Regions from separate parts of the Homo sapiens genome. Here region 1 is linked to region 2. The links are contacts of gene promoters, found by promoter capture Hi-C in human tissues and cell types (Jung and others, 2019). All regions are on one chromosome and are shown on one strand. The core of a region is centred on a gene start or on the middle of the fragment in contact, and the rest is flanking DNA. Distances in the headings are between cores, read along the strand shown.

Region 1 (5,769 bases), core at 2,897-5,396, 360 kb after region 2:
AACTCTGGCATAAGTGACATTATGTGATTTCCTTTTTTTTTTTTTTTTTTATCAAGACAGGGTCTGGCTCTGTCACCCAGGCTGGAGTGCAGTGGCACGATCATGGCTCACTGCAGCCTCAACCTCCAGGGCTCAAGTGATCCCTCCAGCTCAACCTCCCCAGCAGCTGGAACTACAGGTGTGCACCACCACACGCAGCTAATTTCTTTTTAGTAGAGATGAGATCTTGCTATGTTGCCCAGGCTTGATTTCCTTTTTATTATGATTTTACATTATTTTTAGTTAAAAAAAATAGGGATGAGTCCTTGCTATGTTGACCAGGCTAATCTCCAAATCCTGGCCTCAAGTGATCCTCCCACCTTGGCCTCACGAAGTACTGGGATTACAGATGTGAGCCATCGCACCCAGCCACTTTGTGTGATTTTTAAGGCTAGGTCTCGCCTGTGTCCACCTGGAGCCAGCAGTTCTCACCCAGCATCCAGCAATATATGCCAGACACCAATGGAGGGGACAAAGCAATGGTGGACAGGCTCAGGCTGGGGCTGCTGCTTCTGGCACTGCTCCTACTTATGCAGATTTATTCAAATCAAACTATTGTAACGTTTTCAAGTAACTCCTCCCAGGGTACCTTGTCTGCCCCAAACCCAGCTAATGCCACCACCAAGGCAGTTGGCTGTGCCCTGCAGTCAACTGCCAGTCTCCTCATGGTCTTGCTTTCTCTTCTATATTTCTACTGTTAAGAAACATCTATACTTCCGTGTCTTCTAAACCCATTCCAAATGGCATCTAGGAGTCCAATGTGGCAAGAAAAAAAGCGGGTCTTCATCAAATCTATTAATTTCACACCTTCTTTTACTGATACAGAAAAGGTTGAGAACCTGGCCAGGTGTGGTGGCTCATGCCTGTAATCCCAACACATTGAGAGGTCGAGGCAGGTGGATCACCTGAGGTCAGGAGTTTGAGACCAGCCTGGCCAACATGGTGAAACCCCGTCTCTACTAAAAGTACAGAAAAATTACCCAGATATGGTGGTGGATGCCTGTAATCCCAGCTACTTGGGAGGCTGAGGCAGGAGAATTGGTTGAACCTGGGAGGCAGAGGTTGCAGTGAGCCGAGATTGCGCCATTGCACTCCAGCCTGGGCAACAAGAGCAAAACTCTGTCTCAAAAAAAAAAAAAAAAAAAAAAAAGGCCAGGCGCGGTAGCTCACATCTGTAATCCCAGCACTTTGGGAGGCCGAGGCAGGTGGCAGGTGGATCACAAGGTCAGGAGTTCAAGACCAGCCTGACCAACATGGTGAAACCCCGTCTCTACTAAAAATATAAAAATTAGCCAGACGTGGTGGTGTGTGCCTGTAATCCCAGCTACTCAGGAGGCTGAGGCAGGAGAATGGCTTGAACATGGGAGGCAGAGGGTGCAGTGAGCCGAGATCGCGCCATTGCACTCCAGCCTGGGCGACAGAGTGAGACTCCATCTCAAAAAAAAAAAAAAAGGAAAGAAAGAAAGAAAAGGTTGAGAACCCCAAATTTAATTGCTTTGAAGAACACGTGAAGGGTTTGACTAGATGATGGATGCCAATATTAAATCTGCTTAAATGTCATGTACAAGATGAAGAGAGGCAACATCCAAAATTGAAGACATTATTTCTTGAATGTGGCTTAAGAAATGTGGACAGTTAAAACTACCTTGAAAATAAGAATAGTAGATCCTGAGACAAAACTTGGGTAATAAAAAAAAAATAATAATAAATAATAGATTTTATCTTGTTTAGAAATAAAGATGTAATATGGAGTGGAGATTCAGTTTTCATTTGGTTCATTAAGTCTATACGGCAGTAAAACCAGTAAAATAAAAGATTTCCATTGGCAGGGGTGGGGGTGGCTCATACCTGTAATCCTAGCACTTTGGGAGGCCACAGCAGGAGGATCGATTGAGCCCAGGAGTTTGAAATCACCCTGGGCAACAGGGTGAGACCCCATCTCTACAAAAAAAAATTTATTTTAATTTAATTAATTTATTTATTTATTGAGATGGAGTCTTGTTCTGTTGCCCAGGCTGGAGTGCAGTGGTGCGAGCTCAGCTCACTGCAACCTCCACTTCCCTGGCTCGTGATTCTCCTGCCTGAGCCTCCCAAGTTGCTGGGATTACAGGCCTGCACCACCATGCCCCGCTAATTTTTATTTTTTGTTTTTCCTTTCTGAGACACAGTCTCGCTCTGCCATCCAGGCTGGAGTGCAGTGGTGCGATCTCAGCTCACTGCAACCTCTGCCTCGCAGGTTCAAGTGATTCTTGTGCCTCAGCCTCCTGAGTAGCTGGGATTACAGGCACCCACCACCATACCTGGCTAATTTTTGTATTTTTAGTGGAGACAGGGTTTCACCATGTAGGCCAGGCGGGTCGCAAACTCCTGACCTCAGGTGATCTACCCACTGGGCCCCCCAAAGTGCTGGGATTACGGGCATGAGCCACTGCACCTGGCCATAATCTCCTTTTTTTTTTTTGAGGCAGCGTTTCACTCTTGTCCCCCAGGCTGGAGTGCCATGGCACGATCCCAGCTCACTGCAATCTCCACCTCCCGGGTTCAAGCCATTCTCCTTCTTTAGCCTCCTGAGTAGCTGGGACTACAGGAGCATGCCACCATGCCCAGCTAATATTTGTATTTTTAGTAGAGATGGGGTTTCACCATGTTGGCCAGGCTGGTCTCAAACTCCTGACCTCAGGCGATCCAGCTCTCTCGTCCTCCCAAAGTGCTGGGATTACAGGTGTGAGCCACCGTGTCTGGCCCACAAATTTAAAAAAAGAGGTGGGCATGGTGTCACACACTTGTGGTCACAGCTACCCAAGAGACTGAGGTAGGATGATCACTTCAGCCCTGGAGGTCAAGGCTGCAGTAAGCCATTATCATGGCACTCCAGCCTGGGTGACAGAGCAAGATCCTGTCTTAAAGTTTAAAAAAGCTTCCATCGGCTGGGTGCAGTGGCTCACACCTGTAATCCCAGCACTTTGGGAGACCAAGGCGGGTGGATCACAAGGTCAGGAGTTCAAGACCAGCCTGGCCAAGATGGTGAAACCCCATCTCTACTAAAAATACAAAAAATTAGCTGGGCACGGTGGCAAGTGTCTGTAATTACAGCTACTCGGGAGGCTGAGGCAGGAGAATCGTGTGAACTCGGAGGGTGGAGGCTGCAGTGAGCTGAGACCGCACCACTGCACTCCAGCCTGGAAGACAGAGTGAGACTCCGTCTCAAAAAAAAAAAAAAAAGCTTCCATCATTCTATAAATCCTCAATGTATTATTTCAGCAGTACTAATTTAATGCCAATATATTAAGTTTTACATTGTTAGGCTATCACTGTTCTTTTGGTAACTGAATTCTTTTTCCTCTGAGGATTTGGATTTGACATTGCATTTGACCTTTTATTTAGTAATTGACATGTGCCAGGGCAATGATAGACTGCAATCTACCCCCAAGTCCAAGCATCATCAATAACTCTTGTTTATCCTTAGAGAGTCAAATGGTAGGCATTTCATTTCACCTATTTTCGTTCAACAAGGACACCAGATTCATTAAGGGGCTGGGTGCGGTGGCTCACCCCTGTAATCCCAGCACTTTGGGAGGCTGAGGCAGGTGGATCACTTGAGGTCAGGAGTTCGAGACCAGCCTGACCAACAAGATTAAACCCTGTCTCTACTAAAAATACAAAAATTAGCTGGGCATGGTGGTGTGCCTGTAATCCCAGCTACTCAGAGGCTGAGATAGGAGAATTGCTTGAACCTTAGAGCCAGAGGTTGCAGTGAGCCAAGATCATGCTACTGCTGTCCAGCCTGGGAGACACAGTGAGACTCCATCTCAAAAAACAAAAAAAGATCTGTTTTGAAGGTAAAATTATAAACCTTGAAATTAAAAGGGCAAAAATGTAAAGGAGCCAAAAACTGTATATCAAGTATTTGGAAAGTAAAGACTGAAAGTTAACTTGCATTAAAGTCACAAAAACTTTTATACTCTTTTCTTTTTCTTTCTTTCTTTTTTTTTTTTTTGAGATGGAGTTTCACTCTTGTTGCCCAGGCTGGAGTGCAATGGCATGATCTTGGCTCACCGCAACCTCCGCCTCCCAGGTTCAAGCGATTCTCCTGCCTCAGCCTCCTGAGTAGCTGGGATTACAGGCACGCACCACCACGCTCGGCTAATTTTGTATTTTTAGTAGAGATGGAGTTTCTCCATGTTGGTCAGGCTGGTCTTAAACTCCTGACCTCAGGTGATCTGCCCGCCTCAGCCTCCCAAAGTGCTGGGATTACAGGCCTGAGCCACCGTGCCCAGGCTATACTCTTTTTCTGTAAATGCTTTTTGCAAACAACAACTATGGATCAGAATAGCTGCATTTAAAACACATTTTGGGGCTTTTTTTTTTTTGAGACAGAGTCTTACTCTGTCGCCCAGGCTGGAGTGCAATGGAGCGATCTTGGCTCACTGCAACCTCCGCCTCCCAGGTTCAAGTGATTCTCCTGCCTCAGCCTCCCGAGTAGCTAGGATTACAGGTGCACAACACCACACCTCGCTAATTTTTGTATTTTTTGTAGAGACGGCATTTCACCATGTTGGCCAGGATGGTCTTGAACTCCTGACCTCGTGATCTGCCCACCTCAGCCTCCCAAAGTGCTGGGATTACAGGCGTGAGCCACCGCACCCAGCTGGGGCCTTTTTTTTTAAGAGACATGGTCTCACCCTGTTACCCAGGCTAGAGTTCACTGCGGCCTCAACCTCGTGGACTAAAGCAATCCTCCTGCCTCAGCCTCCCAAGTAGCTAGCACTACATGCGTGTGCCACCATTCCCAGCGAATTTTTATCTTTTTGTAGAAATAGGAGTCTTTCTATGTTCCCAAGCTGTTCTTGAACTCCTAGGCTCAAGCAATCCTCTTACCTCATCTCCTAACGTGCTGGGATTACAGACATGAGCCATCATGCCCTGTTTGAAACACATTTTGTTATGTCAATATTTTTAGATAGTTAGAACCTGGTCCTAAACCGCAAAGTAAGCTTGATTCTGTAATAAAAATGTTTACAACTGTCTTGACACACAGAAACCTTTTTAAAAATAGACACTCCCTGAAGTCCTTTGTTCACAAGGTCACACACTGATGCTTATGTGTTCCAGCATCTAATATGGCCACAGTAGTCTTTTTTTTTCCATCTTTAGAAACCTACACGGGAACAGCAGATGGAACAGATCTGAACCCACTCCACTGTGTGTGTGAATGAACACTCCCTTTTGCTCCATGCCGAAATGCTGTACATCTATTTTGGATTGTATATTTGTGTGTGTATGCTTTGATTCATAGTAACTTGTTATGAAATTGATTTGTATTGAATACAAACTGCAAATAAAAATAAATCAATGGCTGAAAAAAAGTCAGTACAGCTTCTCCGTGATTCTCTTGGAACGCTTGCTCTTGGAACCCAGCAGCCATGCTGTGAGGAAGCCCAAACTACACCACACGGTGAGACCGCATGGAGAAAATACGTGTGGTTGTTCCAGAAAGCTGCTCAGCTGAGGGGAAAGCTGATTAGCGGGAAAACTCACCAAGCACAGAAGTGAAGACACTTTCAGATGACTTCAACCCCCAGATGTTGAATCATCTCCAACTTATGAGTCTTTCCAGATGAGGCTTCAGACATTATGGAGCCGTCTCCACTGTATTGCCTTTGAATTTCTGACCTACAGAAACTATAAGCATAATAAAATAAAAATACAAAGTAAAACCAAAATGAGATA
Region 2 (6,542 bases), core at 3,156-5,655:
TAGACAGGACCTAAGGCTGTGCCACGCAAGGGTTCAGCCGTGCACTCCTACCTTAAAAAATAAACTATGTTCAATTGCCACAAGGTTTTTCTTTTTCTCTAGCAGCTAAACGACTACTTGCCTCGAGATAAACAGTATTAAGACAATTACGACTCATTCAGCTCACAGAGGCCAACTGGAACTCCTGTTCCACCAGCCGTAACTACAGCTTTGGACAAAGAAGGTGATTTCGATAACTTTCTCCAGCTAAGAAGACCACCAACCAGGGACTGGTCCTGGACAGTTTACAGAGGCTGTGCACTTGAATGCTTTTGTGCCCTGAAAAGACCTTTTGACATATAGGGCCTAATTGTAATACATTTATTTAAAATTTTTTTTAGAGACAGGGTCTTGGTTTGTCACCCAGGCTGGAATGCAGTGGCACAATCATAGCTCACTGCAGCCCCGAACTCCTGGGCTGAAGTGATCCTCCTGCCTCAGCCTCCCAAGTAGCTGGGATTACAGGTATGCATTACTATACCCAGCTAAGCTTTTATTTTTAGTAGAGATGAGGGGGAGTCTCATTATGTTGCCCAGGCTTGTCTCCAATTCCCAGTCTCAAGCGATCCTCCTGCCTTGGCCTCCCAAAGTGCTGGGATTACAGGCATGAGCCACCACACCTGGCCTGTAATACATTTAAATGTTAAGTCCAAACATTAGTTCAACCTAAAGTAAACATGGGTCATATATTACCACCTATGTAACAAACCTGCACCTCCTGCACATGTACCTTTGAACTTAAAATAAAAGTTGAAGAGAAAGAACAAATTCTTAAGAGGACAGCTCTCATATTAAGTTTTCTTACTATGATTTAAAAAAAATTTTTTTAAGAAATGGGGAAGTATGGAACCAAAAAGGGGCCTGCATATCCAAAGCAAAACTAAGCAAAAAGAACAAATCTGGGAGCATCACATTACCCAACTTCAAACTATACTACAAGGCTATAGTCCCCAAAACAGCACGGTACTGGAATAAAATAGGTACATAGACCAAACGAACAGAATAGAGAACCCAGAAATAAAGCCAAATACTTATATCCAATGGATCTTCAACAAAGCAAACAAAAATATAAAGGGGGGAGGGGCACCCTATTCAGTAAATGGTACTGGGATAATTGGCAAGCCACACGTAGAAGAATGAAACTGTATCCTCATCTCTCACCTTATACAAATATCAACTCAAGATAGATCAAAGACTGAAATCTAAGACCTGAAACCACAAAAATTCTAGAAGACAACATTGGAAAAACTCTTCTGGACATTGGCTTAGGCGAAGACTTTATGACTAAGAACCCAAAAGCAAATGCAACAAAAATGAATATAAATAAATGGGACCTAATTAAACTAAAAAGTTTCTGCACAGCAAAATAAATAATCAGCAGAGTAAACAGACAACCCACAGAGTGGGAGAAAATTTTCACAAACTATGCATCCAACAAAGAACTAATACCCAGAATCTACAAGGAACTCAAACAAATCAGCAAGAAAAAAGCAAATAATCCTATTAAAAAGTCACATGCTAAGGACATGAACAGACAATTCTTATTTTTTTTTTTTTGAGACAGAGTCTCACACTGTCGCCCAGGCTGGAGTGCAGTGGCACAATCTTAGCTCACTGCAGCCTCAGGATCAAGCAATTCTCCCTGCCTCAGCCTCTTGAGTAGCTTGGTACTACAGGTGCCCACCACGATGCTGGCTATTTTTTTTATTTTTATTTTTTTGATTTTTTAGTAGAGACGAGGTTTCGCCATGTTGACCAGGCTGGTCTCGAACTCCTGACCTCAGGCTATCTGCCCACTTCGGCCTCCCAAAGTGCTGGGATTACAGGCGTGAGCCACCGCGCCCGGCCCGACAGTTCTTAAAAGAAGATACACAAATGGCCAACAAACGTGAAAAAATGCTCAATATCACTAATCATCAGGCAAATGCAAATCAAAACCATAATGCCATACCTACTCCTGCATGAATGGCCACAATCAAAAATGAAAAAATGATAGATGTTGACATGGTTGTGGTGAAAAGGGAACACTTTTGCACTGCTGGTGGGAATGTAAACTAGCACAACCACTATGGAAAACAATATGGATGTTCCTTAAAGAACTAAAAGTAAATCTGCCATTAGATCCAGCAATCCCACTAGCGGGTATCTACAGAGAGGAAAATAAGTCATTATATGAAAAATACACTTCCACACGCATGTTTGTAGCAGCACAGTTCACAATTGCAAACATATAGAACCATCTCAAATGCCCATCAATGCACGAGTGGATAAAGAAAATGTGGTATATATATATAACATGGAATACTACTCAGCCATAAAAAGGAATGAAATAATGGCATTTGCAGCAACATGGATGGAGCTAGAGACCATTATTCTAAATGAAGTAACTCAGGAATGGAAAACCAAATATCATATGCTCTCACTTTTAGGTGGGAGCTAAGCTATGAGGACGCAAAGGCATAAGAATGACACAATGGACTTTGGGAACTCAGGGGGAAAGGTGGGAGGGGTGAGGGATAAAAGACTACACTTTGGGTTGGCTGGGCGCAGTGGCTCACGCCTGCAATCCCAGCACTTTGGGAGGCCGAGGCGGGCGGATCACGAGGTCAGGACATCCAGACCATCCTGGCTAACACGGTGAAACCCCGTCTCTACTAAAAATACAAAAAATTAGCCGGGCATGGTGGCGGGCGCCTGTAGTCCCAGCTACTCGGGAGGCTGAGTCAGGAGAATGGCGTGAACCTGGGAGGCGGAACTTGCAGTGAGCCCAGATGGCGCCACTGCACTCCAGCCTGGGCAACAGAGCAAGACTCCATCTCAAAAAAAAAAAAAAAAAAAAAAAAAGACTACACCTTGGGTAGAATGTACACTGTTCAGGTCATGGGTCCCCCAAAATCACAGAAATCATCACTAAAGAACTTATCCATGTAACCAAACACCATGTGTTCCCCAAAAACTACTGAAATAAAAATTAAAAATATAGTTAAAAAGAACGGGTGAAGTTAGCCAGTTGTGGGTGCACATGCCTGTAGTCTCAGCTACTGGGGAGGTTGAAATGGGATGCTTAAGCCTAGGGGTTTCAGTCCAGCCGGGCAACATAGCGAGACCCCATCTAAAAAAAAAAAAAAGAAAGAAAAGAAAGACGGCCGGGCACGGCGGCTCACGCCTGTAATCCCAGCACTTTGGGAGGCTGAGGCAGGTGGATCACGAGGTCAGAAGATCGAGACCATCCTGGCTAACATGGTGAAACCCCGTCTCTACTAAAAATACAAAAAATTAGCCAGGTGTTGTGGCGGGCGCCTGTAGTCCCAGCTACTCTGGAGGCTGAGACAGGAGAATGGCGTGAACCCGGGAGGCGGAGCTTGCAGTGAACCGAGACAGCGCCACTGCACTCCAGCCTGGAAGACAGAGTGAGACTCTGTCTCCAAAAAAAAAAAAAAAACCTAAAGACAAGAAGGGGTGAAGTCAACTGCTGGGCTTTTTTGTTTCTCTAGCCATTGTGAAGACAGGAGTGAGTTGCCAGATTGGCATATGTTGCATCCCACTGAAGGCTAGTGGACATGAATCTCTAGGGAACAGTCTCCCCACTGCATACTTTCTTCAGCTGTGCTTGGCTGTTTGGGAGCTAACAAAGAGAAAAGGTGCATTTGGATTCACACAGCGTTGGTATTCTTACCAAATCCATGTGACAAAAAGGCAAGGGGGCAAAAGAGCTTACAGTAGTGGCAAGAGTGTTGTTAAAATTATAGATTATGGAAAATATGCAGGCCTAGAAGTAAACAAAGGAGAAAGCCCTCAGACTGTGAGAAAGTGGAGAAGTCAGTGGCCTAGAGCTACCAAAAAGGTAGAAGAGGGGCCACGGAGGGGCCATGCAAGTCTGCAGACACTTTTGTTTTCAGACACCTTTATTCACGTCCAAGACAATCAGGGAAGGGGATAATGTTCGGTTTAGAAGGTAGAAAAACACAACTGGGATCTGCAGCTTTGAAGCCACAAGTAGATTCATATCTCCGGTCCACCACTTACAAGATATGTGACCATGGACATTGATTTACACTTTTTGAGTCTGTTTTCCCTTTTTTAAAATTAGGAGAATAATACTATCTTATAATTGGTGTGAGGATTTAAAGAGATAATGCATGTAAAGCGCTTAACACAGTGCCTGGCACACAGTAAGAGCTGAACACATGATGTTACTGTTATATTTGGAAGAGAAACCAAGGCAGGGGTACAATGAGGACAACTCTGAGCGCCGAAGTACTGTAAGGTGGAACTTTTGGATAGCTAGGCGCATGCGTCTGTCTATGGGCGCTCTCCTAGCGAGGACGCTGCGCATGCGCCGGAAGTTGCAGCCGGGAAGCCTGCGAGGTCGGTTCCGCCCGACTCTAACATGGCGGCGCCCTTTGTCTGCTCTGGAGTGCCGTCCCCGGCCTTCTCGCGGCCGTGATGCACCTCCCTCTGCGGTGGGGTCCGGGACATGGCAGGTGAGTGTCAACAATCGCCCGGGGCCGGGGAAGTCCCGGGAGCCGGGGCGGAGGCGGCGGAGGATGGGGCGCGGTGGGACGCCGGTGACGGTTGTGTGGGGGAGGGGAGGGAAGTGGAATGGGACGCCAACCGGGGCTGAGGGGACACCGCTGGGCGGGAGATTGTGGGGTGGCGGGGCGGGGGGCGTCGCCGGGCGTGCTGGCGGGGAGTGGGCGGCCAGGCGACCGCCCGGGCGAGGGGGCGCGTGTCACCTCCCGGGCTGGATGACACCCCAGCTGGTAGCATCTCCGCCCCCGCCGCACGGCTGTCACCGCCCCTTGACCCCGCGCGCTGTCGAGGGTGGGCGTTCTGCGGCCGCGAGGGAGCGCAGTGCCGGGGCAGCTCCTGTCGGCCGGCCGGGGCGGGAGGGAGCGGGGCTGCCCGGGCCTAGGAGGAGCTGACAGAGGAGGCCGACGCTGTCCCTGTATAAAAGCATTTCATTCATTCATTCGTACTGCGGACGGTGGTTCAGCACCTGATAGATGGTGAAGCTAGAGCGAGTGATGCGGGCGGACTCGATCCTCCAGGATCCTCGATCCTGGAGTTAGGAGTGTGAACCGTGGAGCCCAGCAGCGGGGTTTGAATCCCCATTCCCTGCTGTGACCTTAGGCACTTTTGGCTTTTTCTCTCTGCCTGGGTTTATTCATCCTTTAAGCAGAGATGATAATAAAATCAGCCTCCTAAGATTGTAATAAAGGGGAAATGAGGCTCCTAGAACACTTATGGGTACAAAGTAAATGCTGTGTGTTTGTTGCTGTTATTAATTGTATCACCATTGTCACCCAGAGCTCAGAGACCCATGTGGGAGACATACAGGTAAATCAGCAATTCTGATACTGCTGCGAGGGCAGAAAGCCCTCCTTCCTCTGAAGCACGGAGTAGAGACACATCACTCAGCCTAGGGGGAATCCCGGGAGGCTTCTGTCCCCCAGAAAGCTAAGATCTAAGGGAAGCTCAGCGGAGTGAGGCAGGAAAACGGGTATTCCCAGTTAAGGGTGTAGTTTGTGAGAAAACTCATCTTCGTAGAGAGAGGAGAGAGAGATCAGGCTAAATAAAGAAGCAGACTGGGCCGGGCTCGTTGTCTCACGCTTGTAATCTCAGCACTTTGGGAGGCCCAGGCGGGCAGATCACTTGAGGTCAGGAGTTCGAGACCAGCCTGGCCAATATGGTGAAACCCCCGTCTCTACTAAAAATACAAAAATTAGCCGGTCGTGCTTGCGCGCGCCTGTAGTCCCAGCTGCTCAGGAGGCTGAGGTATGAGAATCGCTCGAACGCAGGAGGCGGAGGTTGCAGTGAGCCGAAACGGCGCCACTGCACTCCAGCCTGGGCGACAGAGCGAGATTCCGTCTCAAAAAAGAAAAAAAAAAAAAGCAGCAGCAAGCTGTGGTCTGGTCTTAGGGGACGTTGTAAACCTAGTTAAGGACTTTAAACTTTAGGTTAATGGGAAGCCATTTAAGAATCAGATCTGTGGCCAGGTGCGGTGGCTTACTCTGTAATTCTAGCACTTTGGGAGGCCAACGTGGGATGATCATTTGAGCCCAGGAGTTTGAGACAAGCCTGGGCAACATGGCAAGACCCCATCTTTATTAAAAGAAAAAAAAAAAAAAAGGAAAAAAAAAATAGCCGGGCATGGTGGAGTACACCTCTGGTGGTCCCAGCTTCTTGGAAGGCTGAGGTGGGAGGATTCTTTTATTTCCAGCCTGAAATAAAAGAATCAGGTTTTTTTTGTTTTTGTTTTTGTTTTTTTTTTTTGAGACTACGTCTTGCTCTGTCACCCAGGCTGGAGTGCAGTGGCAGCATAATCATAGTTCACTGCAGCCTTGATCTGAACTCAAGTGATCCTTCTGCCTCAGCCTCCCAACTAGCTGGGACTACAGGCGTGCACCATAACACCTGGCTAATTTTTTAAATTTTTAGTAGAGATGGGGTCTCACTATGTTGCCCAGACTGGTCTCGAACTCTTGGCCTCAAATGATCCT

What was found. The method cuts DNA at HindIII sites, captures the fragments that hold promoters and counts their contacts. A contact is called where the count stands out against the background at its distance.
Region 1: a contact is called between a fragment that was not itself captured here and the fragment with the promoter of ZBTB17 in region 2, in 1 of the 25 tissues and cell types used here (adrenal gland).

Annotation. Positions count from the first base shown.
Region 1 is chr1:15,609,614-15,615,382 of GRCh38, reverse strand. It overlaps the pseudogene CD24P1. Among named protein-coding and RNA genes, the nearest start is that of DDI2, 5.0 kb to the left of the region's middle. The HindIII fragment of the contact is 5,795 bases long and covers 1,249-5,769 here.
Region 2 is chr1:15,973,964-15,980,505 of GRCh38, reverse strand. ZBTB17 (zinc finger and BTB domain containing 17) reads left to right here and starts at 4,405. Exons shown (of 16, transcript NM_003443.3): 1 at 4,405-4,523. RefSeq lists enhancers at 4,041-4,540, 5,432-5,541 and silencers at 4,542-4,641, 4,682-5,011. The HindIII fragment of the contact is 12,952 bases long and covers 1-6,542 here.